Regions from separate parts of the Homo sapiens genome. Here region 1 is linked to region 2. Evidence: promoter capture Hi-C in human tissues and cell types (Jung and others, 2019). All regions are on one chromosome and are shown on one strand. Each heading gives the region's core, a stretch centred on a gene start or on the middle of the fragment in contact. The rest is flanking DNA. Distances are from core to core; before and after follow the strand shown.

Region 1 (3,127 bases), core at 194-2,693, 52 kb after region 2:
GGTTAGCCATTGTCTCTTAGGAATAAACTGGAAAATGTTATAGAGTACTTACAGAATAGCTAACAAATTTTAAATTAAAGTCATTTTTAAACTACATATTGGCACTGTAAGGTTGTTTTTGCCAAGTCTATTTACTAAAGGAAATTTTTTTTCCCTGTACTACTCAGAGATGTGTTTTAATAGTTGTCTTCCCAAGACTACTCATCTAGAACCTTGAGACTGCCTACTATTATCTGGGAAACTACATTAAATGTTTGAGTGAGATAATTATATTTGTAAATTTAAAATTAAAGACCAGGCATCAGTAACCTTTTGTTTTCTTTGTGGAGAATGAGATAGTAAATATTTTAGACTTTATAGGTTATATAGTCACTCTTTGTCAAAACTACTCAATTTTTTACAAAAGCAGCCATAAACAATACATAATGAATGGGTATGACTGTTAAAATAAGACTTTATTTACAAAAACAGGTGACAGGCCAAATTTGGCCCACATAATTCATCAGCCCCCGTTAGACTAAGTTTATCCTAGGAGACTTTTTTTTTTTTTTAACCAATATTGTAGCAGTTTACTTCCTATAAATTCACAGATTGTTTTTTATATTTAACTTAATAACTATTGAATAACTACAAATACTGTAAACTCTCCTACTAAATTGGGAATGTATCTTTAAGCTTTTCTCCTTGCAAGAGATTTTTGCAAGTAAAATTCACGAGTGATTTTAATAAATGGATTTTAAATTAGAGTGGAAGATCTTTTACTTTCATAAATACCAAAACTCTTATATAAATCAATGGAAGGTGGAATTTCAAGGAAAGCAGAAATCTTCCCTGGCAAATGCCAAAGAAATTTTGACAGAGATGAAACTGAAATAATTACATTGTATTTTCCTATAAAATGATTATCAAGACAGTATTACAATAGTGTGAACTATAATTGTAGGGCTCAAGAGACTAGAAAGAGCTGATCTGTCGAGAAATTCAGACTGTGCATTTCCAATGTCATAAAATAGCCCTTAGCATTGAAAGGATTTTTTTAATTTTTTTTATTATACTTTAAGTTCTAGGGTACATGTGCAAAACGTGCAGGTTTGTTACATGTGTATACATGTGCCATGTTGGTGTGCTGTACCCATTAACTCGTCATTTACATTAAGTATATCTCATAATGCTTTCCCTCCCACCCCACAACAGGCCCCGGTGTGTGATGTCCCCCTTCCTGTCTCCAAGTGTTCTCATTGCTCAATTCCCACCTATGAGTGAGAACATGCAGTGTTTGGTTTTCTGTCCTTGCAATAGTTTGCTCAGAATGATGGTTTCCAGCTTCATCCATGTCCCTACAAAGGACATGAACTCATCATTTTTTATGGCTGCATAGTATTCCATGGTGTATATGTGCCACATTTTCTTAATCCAGTCTATCATTGATGGGCATTTGGATTGGTTCCAAGTCTTTGCTATTGTGAATAGTGCCACAATAAACATACGTGTGCATGTGTCTTTATAGCAGCATGATTTATAATCCTTTGGGTATATACCCAGTAATGGGATGGCTGGGTCAAATGGTATTTCTAGTTCTAGATCCCTGAGGAATTGCCACACTGTCTTCCACAATGGTTGAACTAGTTTACAGTCCCACCACCAGTGTAAAAGTCTTCCTATTTCTCCACAACCTGTCCAGCACCTGTTGTTTCCTGACTTTTTAATGATCGCCATTCTAACTGGTGTGAGATGGTATCTCATTGTGGTTTTGATTTGCATTTCTCTGATGGCCAGTGATGATGAGCATTTTTTCCTGTGTCTGTTGGCTGCATAAATGTCTTCTTTTGAGAAGTGTCTGTTCATATCCTTCACCCACTTGTTGATGGGGTTGTTTTAACCTTGTAAACTTGTTTGAGTTCTTTGTGGATTCTGGATATTAGCCCTTTGTCAGATGAGTAGATTACAAAAACTTTTTCCCATTCTGTAGGTTGCCTGTTGACTCTGATGGTAGTTTCTTTAGCTGTGCAGAAGCTCTTTAGTTTAAATTAGATCCCATTTGTCAATTTTGGCTTTTGTTGCTATTGCTTTTGGTGTTTTAGACATGAAGTCCTTGCCCATTTCTATGTACTGAATGGTACTGCCTAGGTTTTCTTCTAGGGTTTTTATGGTTTTAGGTCTAATATTTAAGTCTTTAATCTATCTTGAATTAATTTTTGTATAAGGTGTAAGGAAGGGATCCAGTTTCAGCTTTCTACATATGGCTAGCCAGTTTTCCCAGCACCATTTCTTAAATAGGGAATCCTTTCCCCATTTCTTGTTTTTGTCAGGTTTGTCAAAGATCAGATGGTTGTAGATGTGTGGTATTATTTCTGAGGGCTCTGTTCTGTTCCATTGGTCTATATCCCTGTTTTGGTACCAGTACCATGCTGTTTTGGTTACTGTTGCCTTGTAGTATAGTTTGAAGTCAGGTAGCGTGATGCCTCCAGCTTTGTTCTTTTGGCTTAGGATTGACTTGGCCATGTGGGCTCTTTTTTGGTTCCATATGAACTTTAAAGTAGTTTTTTCCAATTCTGGGAAGAAAGTCATTGGTAGCTTGATAGGGATGGCATTGAATCTATAAATTACCTTGGGCAGTATGGCCATTTTCATGATATTGATTCTTCCTATCCATGAGCATGGAATGTTTTTCCATTTGTTTGTATCCTCTTTTATTTCATTGAGCAGTGGTTTGTAGTTCTTGAAGAGGTCCTTCACATCCCTTGTAAGTTGGATTCCTAGGTATTTTATTCTCTTTGAAGCAATTGTGAATGGGAGTTCACTCATGATTTGGCTCTCTGTTTGTCTGTTATTGATGTATAAGAATGCTTGTGATTTTTGCACATTGATTTTGTATCCTGAGACTTTGCTGAAGTTGCTTATCAGCTTAAGGAGATTTTGGGCTGAGACGATGGGGTTTTCTAGATATACAATCATGTCATCTGCAAACAGGGACAATTTGACTTCCTCTTTTCCTAATTGAATGCCCTTTATTTCTTTCTCCTGCCTGATTGCCCTGGCCGGAACTTCCAACACTATGTTGAATAGGAGTGGTGAGAGAGGGCATCCCTGTCTTGTGCCAGTTTTCAAAGGGAATGCTTTAAGTTTT
Region 2 (2,705 bases), core at 43-2,542:
CAACAATCCCACTGCTGTATATACACCCAAAGGAAAATAAATCATTCCACCAAAAAGACACACACAATTATATGTTCATCACAGCACTATTCACAATAAAAAAGACATGGAATCAACCCAGGTGCCCATCAGTGGTGGACTGGATAAAGAAAATGTGGAACATATACACAATGGAATATTATGCAGCCATGAAAAAGAATGAAATCATGTTCTTCACAGCAACATGAATGCAGCTCAAAGCCATTATCCTAAGCGAACTAATGCAGGAACAGGAAACCAAATATCACATGTTCTTACTTGTAAGTGGGAGCTAAACATTGGGTACACATTGACATAAAGATGGGAACGACAGACTCTGGGGATGACTAGAGTGGGGAGAGTAAGGGGGTAAACGGCTGAAAAACTACTTCTTGGGTACTATGCTCACTACTTGGGTGGCAGATTGATTTGTACACCAAACCTTAGCATTTGTACTCCAAACTTTGTAACAAACCTGCATGTGTACCTTAATTCTGAAATAAAAGTTGAAGAAAAATAAAATTATTTAAATTTTTTTTCTGATACCTCTCTCCAATATTTTTCTCAGTTTGTGGCTTATCTTATGATACTATTATCTCACAGAAGTCTTTCCATTTGTGTGGCAAATTCTGCATATATTTTTCTCCATGGTTTCTTAGAAAGTATTTGTGTTTTTCAAGTCTGGTCCTATCCAAGTATCACAACAATTTTAACTTATTTTTTCTTTTTGTATTGCTTTAATTTTAATATCTTATTTCTTAATCCAAATAGTTTGGCCTTTAGTGTAGTATAGCTAAGGCTTTACTTTTAAATCCAGCAAAAGTCTGTTGCTTCTTAATAGGTCAAATTAAGTTTGATTCCTGAAAACTGCTTCACAGTTTTGAAGTATGTGTTATAATTAAATATGTCGTATTTTAAATAGTTAGTGGTAGAGTTTTCTGCATAAGGATAGTCCTAACAGTATATACAGTCATTTCCTAACAGTATATTTATAGCCAGTTAGTAAAATCCACATGAACTCTAACATCCTTACATCAGAACTAGCCAAGAGGGCTTTCACAGTATCATACTTTATCTATTAAAAAGCGGCACTGTGGAGAGAGGACTTGGAAAATAACTAAGTTGGTTTAAATTGCAACCAACTAATAATAATAAATATATATATTTATTGTTAATTAGAACAAGCTAGATAGCAAAGAGCTAGAAATACTCAACTAGGTGTCAGTTTTAACATGACCCTCTTCTACAAGACTTGATGTCACAGACCCAAAAAAATGTGTTCTTTTTTCTTGTGCCAAACAGGTAAACAGGCAAAAATATCAATGGGAGAAGAAAACCAAACCTTTGTGTCCAAGTTTATCTTCCTGGGTCTTTCACAGGACTTGCAGACCCAGATCCTGCTATTTATCCTTTTCCTCATCATTTATCTGCTGACCGTGCTTGGAAACCAGCTCATCATCATTCTCATCTTCCTGGATTCTCGCCTTCACACTCCCATGTATTTTTTTCTTAGAAATCTCTCCTTTGCAGATCTCTGTTTCTCTACTAGCATTGTCCCTCAAGTGTTGGTTCACTTCTTGGTAAAGAGGAAAACCATTTCTTTTTATGGGTGTATGACACAGATAATTGTCTTTCTTCTGGTTGGGTGTACAGAGTGTGCGCTGCTGGCAGTGATGTCCTATGACCGGTATGTGGCTGTCTGCAAGCCCCTGTACTACTCTACCATCATGACACAACGGGTGTGTCTCTGGCTGTCCTTCAGGTCCTGGGCCAGTGGGGCACTAGTGTCTTTAGTAGATACCAGCTTTACTTTCCATCTTCCCTACTGGGGACAGAATATAATCAATCACTACTTTTGTGAACCTCCTGCCCTCCTGAAGCTGGCTTCCATAGACACTTACAGCACAGAAATGGCCATCTTTTCAATGGGCGTGGTAATCCTCCTGGCCCCTGTCTCCCTGATTCTTGGTTCTTATTGGAATATTATCTCCACTGTTATCCAGATGCAGTCTGGGGAAGGGAGACTCAAGGCTTTTTCCACCTGTGGCTCCCATCTTATTGTTGTTGTCCTCTTCTATGGGTCAGGAATATTCACCTACATGCGACCAAACTCCAAGACTACAAAAGAACTGGATAAAATGATATCTGTGTTCTATACAGCGGTGACTCCAATGTTGAACCCCATAATTTATAGCTTGAGGAACAAAGATGTCAAAGGGGCTCTCAGGAAACTAGTTGGGAGAAAGTGCTTCTCTCATAGGCAGTGACCTCTGAGTCTGACTTTTAGAGCTATGGCAACATTCTTTAAAAAGGAGCAAGATTTTAGTAGGCAATTATGAATTAGGTTATTTCAGGAAGAAGTGTGAAAATGAACATGTTCTAAAAACTGTGAATACTACAATCTAAACTAGAACATAGGGAAAAAATAAAAGCATGAAAAGTTAGGTCATTTCTTGATTGTAAAAGGTGTTGGGTGCTACTGTGAGGAGTTTGTAGTTAATTCAGCTGCCATGGCATGTTTTAAGCACAGTCACAATTGAATCTAGGAGGTTTCAACCAGATTATTCTGAAATAACAGCTAATACAAATTGCAAGCATAATTCTAACATCAAAGATATCTCAAGTTTGTATGTCTTCAGCATACAAACCTTAGAATAGGCTCTGATTAAAACAATTAAAATATCTGT

Evidence for each region. Contacts are between HindIII fragments. The study calls those that stand out against the background at their distance.
Region 1: a contact is called between a fragment that was not itself captured here and the fragment with the promoter of OR2D3 in region 2, in 1 of the 25 tissues and cell types used here (pancreas).

What each region holds. Positions count from the first base shown.
Region 1 is chr11:6,971,872-6,974,998 of GRCh38, forward strand. It overlaps a transcript of ZNF215 not described here. Among named protein-coding and RNA genes, the nearest start is that of ZNF214, 47 kb to the right of the region's middle. The HindIII fragment of the contact is 5,832 bases long and covers 1-3,127 here.
Region 2 is chr11:6,919,710-6,922,414 of GRCh38, forward strand. OR2D3 (olfactory receptor family 2 subfamily D member 3) reads left to right here and starts at 1,293. Exons shown (of 1, transcript NM_001004684.1): 1 at 1,293-2,285. The coding sequence starts at 1,293. The coding sequence ends at 2,285. The region is part of intron 3 of LOC107984019 (a long non-coding RNA gene); the gene reads right to left. The HindIII fragment of the contact is 21,059 bases long and covers 1-2,705 here.